Linked DNA regions of Homo sapiens: region 1 is linked to region 2. The links are contacts of gene promoters, found by promoter capture Hi-C in human tissues and cell types (Jung and others, 2019). All regions are on one chromosome and are shown on one strand. Each heading gives the region's core, a stretch centred on a gene start or on the middle of the fragment in contact. The rest is flanking DNA. Distances are from core to core; before and after follow the strand shown. Region 1 holds the start of WDR74 (WD repeat domain 74). Region 2 overlaps ASRGL1 (asparaginase and isoaspartyl peptidase 1).

Region 1 (5,910 bases), core at 99-2,598, 460 kb before region 2:
GGTGGGATTACAGGCGTGAGCCACCGCGCCCGGCCTGGTTTCGCGTTTGATGTGTTAAACCTAGGTCGCGCTCGGGGTTTCAAGCGTGAAATCCTAGCACTTCGGGAGGTTGGGGCGGGCGGATTGGGTAATTCCAGCCTGACTAACATGGTGTGAAAAATCCCGTCTTCACTAAAAAACCAAAAGAAAAGTGAATCAGGCCTGGTGGCGGGCGCTCTAGCCTGAGAGACAGAGCAAGATTCCATCTCAAAAAATAAATAAATCTTCGCGTTAGATAAAGGGTTTACTTGTAAACTGGTAATTTGTTGCTTTTCTGTGTTAATCTCTAGGTAAAGTAGCGACTTCCCTCTCCTATTTACGCATGCGCTATTACTGTATTTCTACTGAGCGATGACTTTCTCTGCGTTTCTCATGTAGCATAGCACAGAGTACTTTTAGTTGTTTTTGTTTTTTTTTTTTGAGACGGAGTCTCTGACGCCCAGGCTGGAGTGCAGTGGCGCAATCTCGGCTCACTGCAAGCTCCTCCTCCCGGGTTCACGCCATTCTCCTGCCTCAGCCTCCGGAGTAGCTGGGACTACAGGCGCCCGCCACCACGCCCGGCTAGTTTTGTTTTTGTATGTTTAGTAGAGACGGGGATTCACCGTGTTAGCCAAGATGGTCTCGATCTCCTGACCTCATGATCCGCCCGCCTCGGCCTCCCAAAGTGCTGGGATTACAGGCGTGAGCCACCGCGCCTCGCTGTCCGCCTCTTGAAGAGTAAACGAGGCCGGGCGCGGTGGTTTAGTAATACCAGCTGTAATCCCAGCTACTTGGGAGGCTGAGGCAGAAGAATCGCTTGAACCCGGGAGGCGGAGGTTGAGGTGAGAGGAGATCGCGCCATTGCACTCCAGCCTGGGCAACAAGGGCGAAGTTCTCTCAAAAGAAAAAAAAAATCGTCGGTTTCCTTTTCCCATCTTTCTTTCGTGACTTATATTCCAGAACGAAGCCCCACACATCATTAATGATTTGAATCGTTTCTAAAGTGTTTCTTAAATCGTTTCTTAAATCGTTTGTTGTTTCTTGTCTAACAGTCCAGAACACATATTACATAATGGAGCCGGGAGACAGACTAGGGCTGGCTTGATCCGGCCACGCAGTCCAGGAAAGGTGCTTTTCACCCCCAAGTGCAAAATGATCAATGTATTCTTCCGATCTACATAAACAAGCACCTCCTGGTTTCATTTTCGTAAAGCAAAACAAGCATGGAAGCTTTACTGTTTCGGCTCTTCAAACTTCCAGCAACTACACTGCGCTGCATCGGACTCGACGCCCGCTGGTGACGCACACGCTGCGCCGGAAGTGTGAACTGTCTGCCTCCAGGCTTTGTCATGGCGGCTGCTGCTGCACGCTGGAACCATGTGTGGGTCGGCACCGAGACTGGGATCTTGAAAGGTGGGTGGCAGGCTCGGGCGTCGGGAAGTGCAGGGGTGCACTCGCGCCCCTGGCGTGACTGACGCCTTCGTCTCTCAGGGGTAAATCTTCAGCGAAAACAGGCGGCGAACTTCACGGCCGGAGGACAGCCGCGGCGCGAGGAGGCAGTGAGCGCCCTGTGTTGGGGCACCGGCGGCGAGACCCAGGTGAGTGGCCCCTGGTCGGGCCGGAGCTGGGGGCCTGGGGCGCAGCAGCCTCGCTCTCCTCGCCATCTTGCCCTTCTTTGCCGCAGATGCTGGTGGGCTGCGCGGACAGGACGGTGAAGCACTTCAGCACCGAGGATGGCATATTCCAGGGTCAGAGACACTGCCCGGGCGGGGAGGGCATGTTCCGTGGCCTCGCCCAGGCCGACGGGTAAGACCAATCCCCTCGCTAAACTCAGGGCCGAAGGGAGAGCGTTGATGCTCCCTGAGGATACTGGAATGATGGCGACAGGCAAACTCTTAGTGACACGGCTTTGAATGGGTGACAGGGACCTGGGTTTCTGCCTTATGTAGTTCATACCTGTAACACACATTTATTGAACACCTACTGAATTCCAGGCACTGGGAGAAGTACAGGGGCTGCCGGTAAAATTTCTGCCTTCAAAAAGTTCTCATCCTCTAAGGTTTTTCACCTGACTCCATTATAATCCTCTAAGTAACCATGGGCAAGTCATTTAATAGTTTTGTGTGTGTGTGTGTTTGTTTTTTGTTTTTTTTTTTTTTGGAGACGGAGTTTTCGCTCTTGTTGCCCAGGCTGGAGTGCAGTGGCGCGATCTCGGCTCACTGCAACCTCCGCCTCCCGGGTTCAAGCGATACTCCTGCCTCAGCCTCCCAAGTACCTGGGATTACAGGCGTCTGCCACCACGCGCGGCTATTTTTGTATCTTTAGTAGAGACGGGGTTTCACCGTATTGGCTAGGCTGGTCTCGAACTCCTGACCTCAGGTGATCCACCTGCCTCGGACTCCCAAAGTGCTGGGATTACAGGCGTGAGCCACTGTGCCTGCTTGTCATTTAATAGTTTTAAGCAAGGCTGGGTGTGGTGGCTCATGCCTGTCATCCCAGCACTTTGGAAGGCCGAGATAGGTGGATCACTTGAGGTCAGGAGTTCAAGACCAGCCTGGCCAGCACGGTAAAACCCCTTCTCTACTAAAAAAATACAAAAATTATCCGGGTGTGGTGGCTCATGCCTGTAATCCCAGCTACTTGGGAGGCCGAGGCTGGAGAATCGCTTGAATCCGTCCCGCAGAGGTTGCAGTGAGCAGAGATCGCACCAGTGCACTCCAGTCTGTGAAACAGAGCAAGACTCCATCTCAAAAAAAACAACAAAAAAAGTTTTAAGCATGCATTCATTAATTCATTATTAATTCATTTATATTTTTTGAGACAGAGCCTCACTGTGTCACCTAGGCTTGAGTGCAGTGGTGCATTCATGGCTCACTACAGCCTCAACCTCCCGGGGTCAAACGATCCTCCCGCCTCAACCTCCTGAGTACCTGGGACCACAGGCAGGTGTCACCCTGCCCAGCTAAATTTTTAAGTTTTTTATAGAGATGGGGTCTCACTGTGTGCCCAGGCCAGTCTCAAACTCCTGGGCTCAACTTGAGCTCAACCACCAACAAGGTGATGTAGCTCTGAAAGCAAAGATTAGGAAGGTGCTAAGTGGTTGGATGACTGGCCTTGCTTTCTTCCAAAGATGATGAAAGAGGGCTGTGAAGCAGGCTGCATAGGTTTGGTGGTGGTAATTCTGACAGGTGAGGTCTGGAAAGCCTGTGGGGGGGACTGGATGTCTGAACTGGTTCTTGAGGGATGGGTAGAATTTTGACTGGTGGAGAAGGGGATAAGGGTATTCTAGAAAGAGGGTACTGCCTGGGAGAGGCCAAGGACTGGAGGCATGCTACAGGGTACATAAATAGGATAAATAGCATTTGATTTGGAAGTTGATAACAAGGAAGCGTTTTTTTTTTTTTGTTTTTTGTTTTTTTTTTATATACGGAGTCTCACTCTGTTGCCCAGGCTGGAGTGCAGTGGCACAGTCTCGGCTCACTGCAACTTCTGCCTCCCAGGCTCAAGCGATTCTCTTGCCTCAGCCTCCTGAGTAGCTGGGATTACAGGCATCCGCCACCACGCCCAGCTAAGTTTTTTTTGTATTTTTATTAGAGACAGGGTTTCACTATGTTGGCCAGGCTAGTCTGGAACTCCTGACCTCAGGCAATCCGCCCACCTCAGCCTCCCAAAATGCTGGGATTACAGGCGTGAACCACTGCACCCGGCCAAGGAAGCATTTTAATACAAGATGAACACTATATTAGGTTGGGATTAAATGTAAAGGGCTTTAAGTGCTAGGTTGAGAGATGTGCACTTTTATTGGTGTTGGTGAGTTATTCATTTATTGTTTTTGTTTTTCTGAGAGACGGAGTCTTGCTCTGTCACTGAGGCTGAAGTGCAGTGGCATGATCTCGGCTCACTGCAACCTCCACCTCCCTGGTTCAGGCGATTCTCCTGCCTCAACTTCCCAAGTAGCTAGGACTACAGGCATGTACCACCACACCCAGCTAATTTTTGTATTTTTTAGTAGAGACAAGATTTCACTATATGTTGGCCAGGCTGGTCTGGAACTCCTGACCTCAGGTGATCTGCCTGCCTTGGCCTCCCAAAGTGCTGGGATTATAGGCGTGAGCCACTGTGCCTGGCCAAGTTATCAGTTTTTGAATAGGAAGTACCATAGTCAGCACTGGGAGCCTGTAGGAGTATGGAGGATGGATTGGAGACAGCAACTGGGAGACTTTTGCCACAGGTCAGGCAAGTCGATACAGAGCCCGAACCCAGCTAGGGAGGGTTGGCAGGTGTGAGAAAGAACATAGGCGCAGGCTGTGCAGATCCTGGGGAGAGACTTGCTTGGACTTCTCGGGAGGGATATTTTAAGCAAGAGACTGACATTTAGTGCCTGAAACTCAGAGCAAGGAACCCAAGAAGTTGGTGTTTGACTTTGACCAAGCCCTAAATTCAGACCAGCCCTAGTAAGCAACTCAAGATTCAGACAGACCAGTACAGCCAGATGCTAGACATAGCTGTGAACAGCAAAAGCACTCTGGAATATCACAGAGTTGATTTCTAGCTGTGGTTGTAACATAGCTGAGTGGCAAATTAGTTTCTCAGCGCTTCTATTTCCTCACTTGGTAAACCCTCACCCTGTTGAGAAAGTTGAATTAACAGATTAGGAAGCTGGAAGCTGTCAAGCCCTGCCTAGAGCCCAGTGACCTAGAGGCTTCCTTCTAAACTGGACTGTTAGTAGGGAATCTGGTTGATATGAGTTTGGGGCCTAGAGAATACTTTTATACTTTTTTTTTTCTTTAAACATTAGTCAACTGTAGTAGTAAGGAGGAGAGAAAGATTAGAACAAGGAGTTTAAGCACTTAAAAAATCCCAACTCTATCCTTTCTCTGCAGCACCCTCATCACATGTGTGGATTCTGGGATTCTCAGAGTCTGGCATGACAAGGACAAGGACACATCCTCTGACCCAGTGAGGCTCCCCTGCCCTGATGGTTGGGGGAGGTGGGCTGGGGTAGGTGCCTAATGATCACGCTGGGGAAGGGAGGATTAAGGACTCTGGAACGGACTCTTATCTCCTATTCTTTACAGCTCCTGGAACTGAGAGTGGGCCCTGGGGTGTGTAGGATGCGCCAAGACCCAGCACACCCCCATGTGGTTGCCACAGGTGGGAAAGAGAATGCTTTGAAGATATGGGACCTGCAGGGCTCTGAGGAACCTGTGTTCAGGGCCAAGAACGTGAGTGACAAGAGTGTGAAGGAGCTGTTCCTGAAGTCGAGGGAGGCTGAGGCCACTGACGATGCATTAGAGACTAGATGGACTTAGGGGGCGAAGGAGGGCTGAAAACAGGGGCACATCGAGCCCCCCATAGCCCTGTCCTCCATCTGCCCACCCCACCAGGTGCGGAATGACTGGCTGGACTTGCGGGTTCCCATCTGGGACCAGGACATACAGTTTCTCCCAGGATCACAGAAGCTTGTCACCTGCACAGGGTACCACCAGGTAAGGTGTCACCTCACACCTGCCTTCTCCTGGGATAAAGCAGCCTCCTGGAGAAATGGCCCCCACGGTTTGACACAACTGCTCTTCTCACCATTCTGAGTTCAGAGGAGCAAGCGCTTCCCCGTCTGTTCCAACCCTGTCCCTGAGCCCATGACCTTCCTCTACTGTATTCTAGGGTGGAGTTTCCTGAACTATGCCTGTTTTCCTCCCACCTGGAAGAGAGGAAAGGAGAGTGGATCCCCTTCACTGTGGGAATTATAGGGTGCAGGTGTCAGAGGACATTGGGCTGGGTGTTAAGAGAACTGGGTTCTGGTCCTGATGCAGCCTCTCTGATTTGCTTTGGGACCCAGGCCTGAGCCTCCCATCTCTGGCCTCAGCTCCTCAGCTTTACAGGAAGGGCCCG
Region 2 (6,061 bases), core at 3,538-6,037:
GGGTTTCACCATGTTGGTCAGGCTGGTCTCAAACTCCTGGGCTCAAGTGATCCACCCGCCTCAGCCACCCAAGCTGCTGGGATTACAGGCGTGAGGCACCACGCCTGGCCCTAAAATCTTTTATGTGGCAAAAATACCATAGCAAAAGCAAAATAAAAACAGCAGATTTGGGATTTTTTAAAATTTTATTTACAGCAGAACATAACCTTAAGGCTCATAAGAGCCAGGTACAGTGGCTTGTGCCTGTAGTTCCTGCTACTCAAGAGGAAGAGGTAGGAGGATCACTTGAGCCCAGGAGCTCAAGGCCAGCCTGAGCAACATAGAGAAATCCCATCTATCTATAAAGAACGTTAAAAATGTAAAAGAAAAAACAATGAGACTGATAAGAAAGGGAAAAAATAATTCAAAGGAAAAAATGAGTGTAGGACAAAACTAGGCAAATTTGTAAAAAGGAAAAACCCATAAACAAATGTAAAATGCTCAAACTCACTGTCAGGGAAAGGGAAGAGCAAATTAAAGTAACAGTGTTACCCTTTACCTGTTAGATAAGGAAGGAGGGTTCTCCCAGTCCCTGCTGGTGGCAGGCCCACCTCTAACATTTGCAAGGGGCCATGGCAACAATACAAATACAACTGGAGGCCCACATACCATATATTTAATATTGGGAAGTTATAAGTATGTTCTATCCTGTTACTGTGGTAAATGTATCTTGAAAAATCGGTATTTTTCTTGTATATATGTTTCACTGTATATAAGGTGAACTTTTTTTTTTTTTTTGAGACAGTCTTGCTCTGTGGCGCAGGCTGGAGTGCAGTCGTGTGATCTCGGCTCACTGCAACTTCCATCTCCCAGGTTCAAGTGATTCTCCTGCCTCAGCCTCCTGAGTAGCTGGGATTATGGGCATGCACCACCACTCCCGGCTAATTTTTTGTCTTTCAGTAGAGACGGGGTTTCACCATGTTGGCCCCAGGGTGGTCTTCAACTCCTGAGCTCGGGCAGTCTGCCTGTCTTGGCCTCCCAAAGTTCTAGGATTACAGGCATAAGCCACCACACCCAGCCATGAATGTTTTGATATACATAGTGAAATTATGATTACAGTCAACTAGAATAACATACCTATCATCTCACAATTACCTTTCTTTATTTTTTTGTGGTAAGAGTACCTAAAATCTACTTTTTAAATTTTTTTGAGATGGAGTCTTGCTCTTTTGCCCAAGCTGAAATGCAGTGGCGCCATCTCAGCTCACAGCAGCCTCTGCCTCCCGGGTTTAAGGAATTCTCTGCTTCAGCCTCCCAAACAGCTGAGATTACAGGCGTGTACCACCACACCCAGCTAATTTTTCTGTATTCTTAGTAGAGATGAAGTTTCACCATCTTGGCCAGGCTGGTCTTGAACTCCTGACCTCATGATCTGCCTGCCTTGGCCTCCCAAAGTGCTGGGATTAAAGGTGTGAGCCACTGCGCCCGGACTTTTTTTTGTTTTTGAGACGGAGTCTTGCACTGTTGCCCAGGCTGGAGTGCAGGGGTGTGATCTTGGCTCACTGCAAGCTGACAAACTACCAATGATGACTTAACTTAGTTATTATTGTGCATACCAGGGTCATTTGTTAATCGGCTGGTGATGGCAGATGAATGGCAAACACACACACACACACACGCACACACGTGCACACACACACATGCACACACACAGATGCATTTAATAAGTTATGTATTTATTCCATTAAAATATTTTTTCTTGGCTTCATTCCAGGGAGTACTGATTTTTTTTTTTTTTTTGAGACCAACTCTTGCCCTGTCGCCCAGGCTGGAGTGCAGTGGTGTGATTTCGGCTCACTGCAACTGGGTTCTAGCAGTTCTCCTGCCTCAGCCTCCTGAGAAGCTGGGACTACAGGTGCACACTGCCAAGCCTGGCTAATTTTTTGTATTTTTTAGTAGAGATGGGGTTTCACCATGTTGCCCAGGCTGGTCATGAACTCCTGAGCTCAGGCAGTCCACCCACCTTGGCCTCCCAAAGTGCTGGGATTACAGGCGTGAGCCACCAAGCCTGGCCTGATGATGTTCTTTTTTTTTTTTTTTTTTTTTTTTTTGAGTAGGAGTCTCGCTCTGTCGCCCAGGCTGGAGTGCAGTGGCGGGATCTCGGCTCACTGCAAGCTCCGCCTCCTGGGTTCACGCCATTCTCCTGCCTCAGCCTCCCGAGTAGCTGGGACTACAGGCGCCCGCCACTACGCCCGGCTAATTTTTTGTATTGTTAGTAGAGACGGGGTTTCACCGTTTTAGCCGGGATGGTCTCGATCTCCTGACCTCGTGATCCGCCCGCCTCGGCCTCCCAAAGTGCTGGGATTACATGCGTGAGCCACCGCGCCCGGCCCCTGATGATGTTCTTATACTTAACGTGACTTCTATTGACAAAATGGCAAAAGACAAGCTTTCTTGAGTCAACATAGTTTTTAGCAAGTTTTTAATTTATTTTAATTTGGAGAAGCTTCCTTCTGCTGAAGCAGCAGCAACTGGAATTACCAACAAAATTCTCAAAGCAGTACTTAGATTTAGAAATGAATACTGATTTTTACATTATCACACTCAAATACTATATGGATTTGTGGGGAAACGAAAGAGATCAGGCTGTTACTGTGTCTATGTAGAAAGAAGTAGACATAAGAGACTCTATTTTGTTCTGTACTAAGAAAAATTCTTCTGCCTTGAGATGCTGTTAATCTGTAACCCTACCCCAACCCTGTGTCGCAGAGACGTGCTGTGTTGACTCAAGGTTTAATGGATTTAGGGCTATGCAGGCTGTGCTTTGTTAAAAAAGTGCTTGAAGGCAGTATGCTTGTTAAAAGTCATTACCATTCTCTAATTTCAAGTACCCAGGGACACAATACACTGCGGAAGGCTGCAGGGACCTCTGCCTAGGAAAGCCAGGTATTGTCCAAGGTTTCTCCCCATGTGATAGCCTGAGATATGGCCTTGTGGGAAGGGAAAGACCTGACCGTCCCCCAGCCCGACACTGTCCCCCAGCCCGACACCCCACCCGTAAAGGGTCTGTGCTGAGGAGCATTAGTAAAAGAGGAAGGCCTCTTTGCAGTTGTGATAAGAGGAAGGCATCTGTCTCCTGCTTGTCCCTGGGCAATAGAATGTCTGGGTTTAAAACCCGATTGTATGTTCTATTTACTGAGATAGGAGAAAACAGCCTTAGGGCTGGAGGTGAGAGGTGCTAGCGACAATACTGCTCTTTAATGTTTGTATACATGCACATCAAGGCATAGCACCTTTCCTTATTTATGACACAGAGACATTTGTTCACATGTTTTCCTGCTGACCCTCTCCTCTCTATTAACTTATTGTCCTGCCACATCCCCCTCTCCAGATGGTAGAGATAATGATCAGTAAATACTGAGGGAACTCAGAGACTGTTGCCGGTGGGGGTCCTCCGTATGCTGAGCACCGGTCCCCTGGGCCCACTTTTTTTTCTCTATACGTTGTCTCTGTCTCTCCTGCCTCAGCCTCCTGAGTAGCTGGGACTACAGGCACCCGCCACTGGGCCCGGCTAATTTTTTGTATTTTTAGTAGAGATGGGGTTTCACCCTGTTAGCCAGGATGGTCTCGATCTCCTGACCTCGTGATCCACCGGCCTCGGCCTCCCAAAGTGCGGGGATTACAGGCGTGACCCACCGCACCCAGCCTCTTATTTCTTTTCTCAGTCTCTCGTCCCACCTGATGAGAAACGCCCACAGGTGTAGAGGGGCTGGCCACCCCTTCATCTGGTGCCCAACGTGGGTGCTTTTCTCTAGGGTGAAGGTGAGCTAGAGCGTGGTCATTGAGAACAAGTTGATGAGAGATTCCCGAGTACGTCTACAGTCAGTCTTGTGGTAAGCTTGTGCCCTCGGAAGAACCTAGGGTAACAATGGGGCAAACTGAAAGTAAATATGCCTCTTATCTCAGCTTTATTAAAATTCTTTTAAAAAGGGGGGAGTTAGAGTCTCTACAAAAAAATCTAATCACGCTATTTCAAACAGTAGAACAATTCTGCCCATGGTTTCTAGAACAGGGAACTTTAGATCTAAAAGATTGGGAAAAAATTGGCAAAGAATTAAAACAAGCAAGTAGGAAGGGTAAAATCATCCCACTTACCGTATGGAATGATTGGGCCATTATTAAAGCAGCTAATTTAGAACTGTTTCAAACAGGAGAAGATAGCGTTTCAGTTGCTGATGCCCCTGAAAGCTGTGTAATAGATTGTGAAGAATAGGCAGGGATAGAATCCCAGAAAGGAATGGAAAGTTCAAAAGTTCACATTGTAAATATGTAGCAGAGTCTGTAATGGCTCGGTCAATGCAAAATGTTGACTACAATCAATTACAGGAGGTAATATATCCTGAAGCATTAGAATTAGAAGAAAAAGGTCCAGAATTAGCGGGGCCATCAGAGTCTAAACCATGATGGCCAACTCCTCTTCCAGCGGTTCAGATGCCTGTAACATTACAACCTCAAATGCAGGTTAGACAAGTACAAACCCCAAGAGAATATCAAATAGAGAGTCTCTGTCATGGCAACGCCAATCCAAATACAGTATCCACAATATCAGCCGGTAGAAAATAAGACCCAACCGCCAGTAGCCTATCAATACTGGCCGCCAGCCGAACTTCAGTATCGGCCGCCCCCAGAAAATCAGTATGGACAGCCAGGAGTGTTTCCAGCACCACAGGGCAGGGCGCTATAGCCTCAGCCGCCCACTATAAGACTTTATCCTACAGCACCACCTAGTGGACAAGGTAGTGCATTACATAAAATTATTGATAAGGCAAGGAAACAAGGAGATATTGAGGCGTGGCAATTCCCAGTACCGATGCCACCTGGAGAAGGGGCCCAAGAAGGAGCGCCTACCCTAGTTGGGGCCAGATATGAGTCCTTTTCTATAAAAATGTTAAAAGATATGAAAGAGGGAGTAAAACAGTATGGACCCAACTCCCCTTATATGAGAACATTATTAGGTTCCACTGCTCATGGACATAGACTCATTCCTTATGATTGGGAGATTTTGGCCAAATCATCACTCTCACTGTCTCAATTTTTACAATTTAAGAGTTGGTGGATTGATGGGGCACAAGAACAGGTCTGAAGTAATAGGGCTGCCAATCCTCCAGTTAACATAGATGCAGATCAACTATTAGGAAAAGGTCAAAATTGGAGCACTACTAATCAACAAGCAATAATGCAAAATGAGGCCATTGAGCAAGTTAGAGCTATCTGCCTTAGGGCCTGGGAAAAAAATCCAAGACCCAGGAACCACCTGCCCCTCATTCAATACAATAAGACAAGGCTCTAAAAAGCCCTACCCTGATTTTGTGGCAAGGCTCCGAGATGCTGCTCAAAAGTCAATTACCGATGAAAATGCCCGTAAGGTCATAGTGGAGTTGATGGCATATGGAAACGCCAATCCTGAGTGTCAATCAGCCACTAAGCCATTAAAAGGGAAGGTTCCCACAGGATCAGATGTAATCTCAGAGTACGTAAAAGCCTATGATGGAATTGGAGGAGCTATGCATAAAACTATGCTTATGGCTCAAGCAATAATGGGAGTTGCTTTAGGAGGACAAGTTAGAACATTTGGGGGAAAATGTTATAATTGTGGTCAAATTGGTCATCTAAAAAAGAATTGCCCAGCCTCAAAAAAACAAAATATAACTATTCAAGCTACTACAACAACAACAGATAAAGAGCCACCCGACTTATGTCCAAGATGTAAAAAAGAAAAACACTATTAGAATTCTATCAAATTCTAAATTTGATAGAAATGGGCAACTATTGTCAGGAAACAGCAAAGGGGCCAGCCTCAGGCCCTGCAACAAACTGGGGCATTCCCAGTTCAGCCCTTTGTTCCTCAGGGTTTTCAGGGACAACAACCCCCACTGTCACAAGTGCCTCAGGGAATGAGCCAGTTACCACAATACAACAATTGTCCCCTGCCACAAGCGGCAGTGTAGCAGTAGATTTATGTACTATACAAGCAGTCTCTCTGCTTTCAGGGGAGCCCCCACAAAAAATTCCCACAGGGGTA

Evidence for each region. Contacts are between HindIII fragments. The study calls those that stand out against the background at their distance.
Region 1: the fragment with the promoter of WDR74 here is called in contact with a fragment that was not itself captured in region 2 in 1 of the 25 tissues and cell types used here (IMR-90 fibroblasts).

The regions. Positions count from the first base shown.
Region 1 is chr11:62,835,028-62,840,937 of GRCh38, reverse strand. It overlaps WDR74 (WD repeat domain 74), which reads left to right and starts at 1,348. Exons shown (of 11, transcript NM_001369450.1): 1 at 1,348-1,431; 2 at 1,510-1,616; 3 at 1,703-1,824; 4 at 4,902-4,977; 5 at 5,097-5,243; 6 at 5,406-5,507. The coding sequence starts at 1,368. RefSeq lists a silencer at 1-24 and enhancers at 155-324, 955-1,094, 1,165-1,504, 1,565-1,684, 1,795-1,924. The HindIII fragment of the contact is 7,487 bases long and covers 1-3,364 here.
Region 2 is chr11:62,379,632-62,385,692 of GRCh38, reverse strand. All of the region lies in intron 4 of ASRGL1 (asparaginase and isoaspartyl peptidase 1), which reads right to left. Among named protein-coding and RNA genes, the nearest start is that of SCGB1A1, 36 kb to the left of the region's middle. RefSeq lists enhancers at 2,417-2,982, 2,983-3,548. The HindIII fragment of the contact is 3,212 bases long and covers 3,182-6,061 here.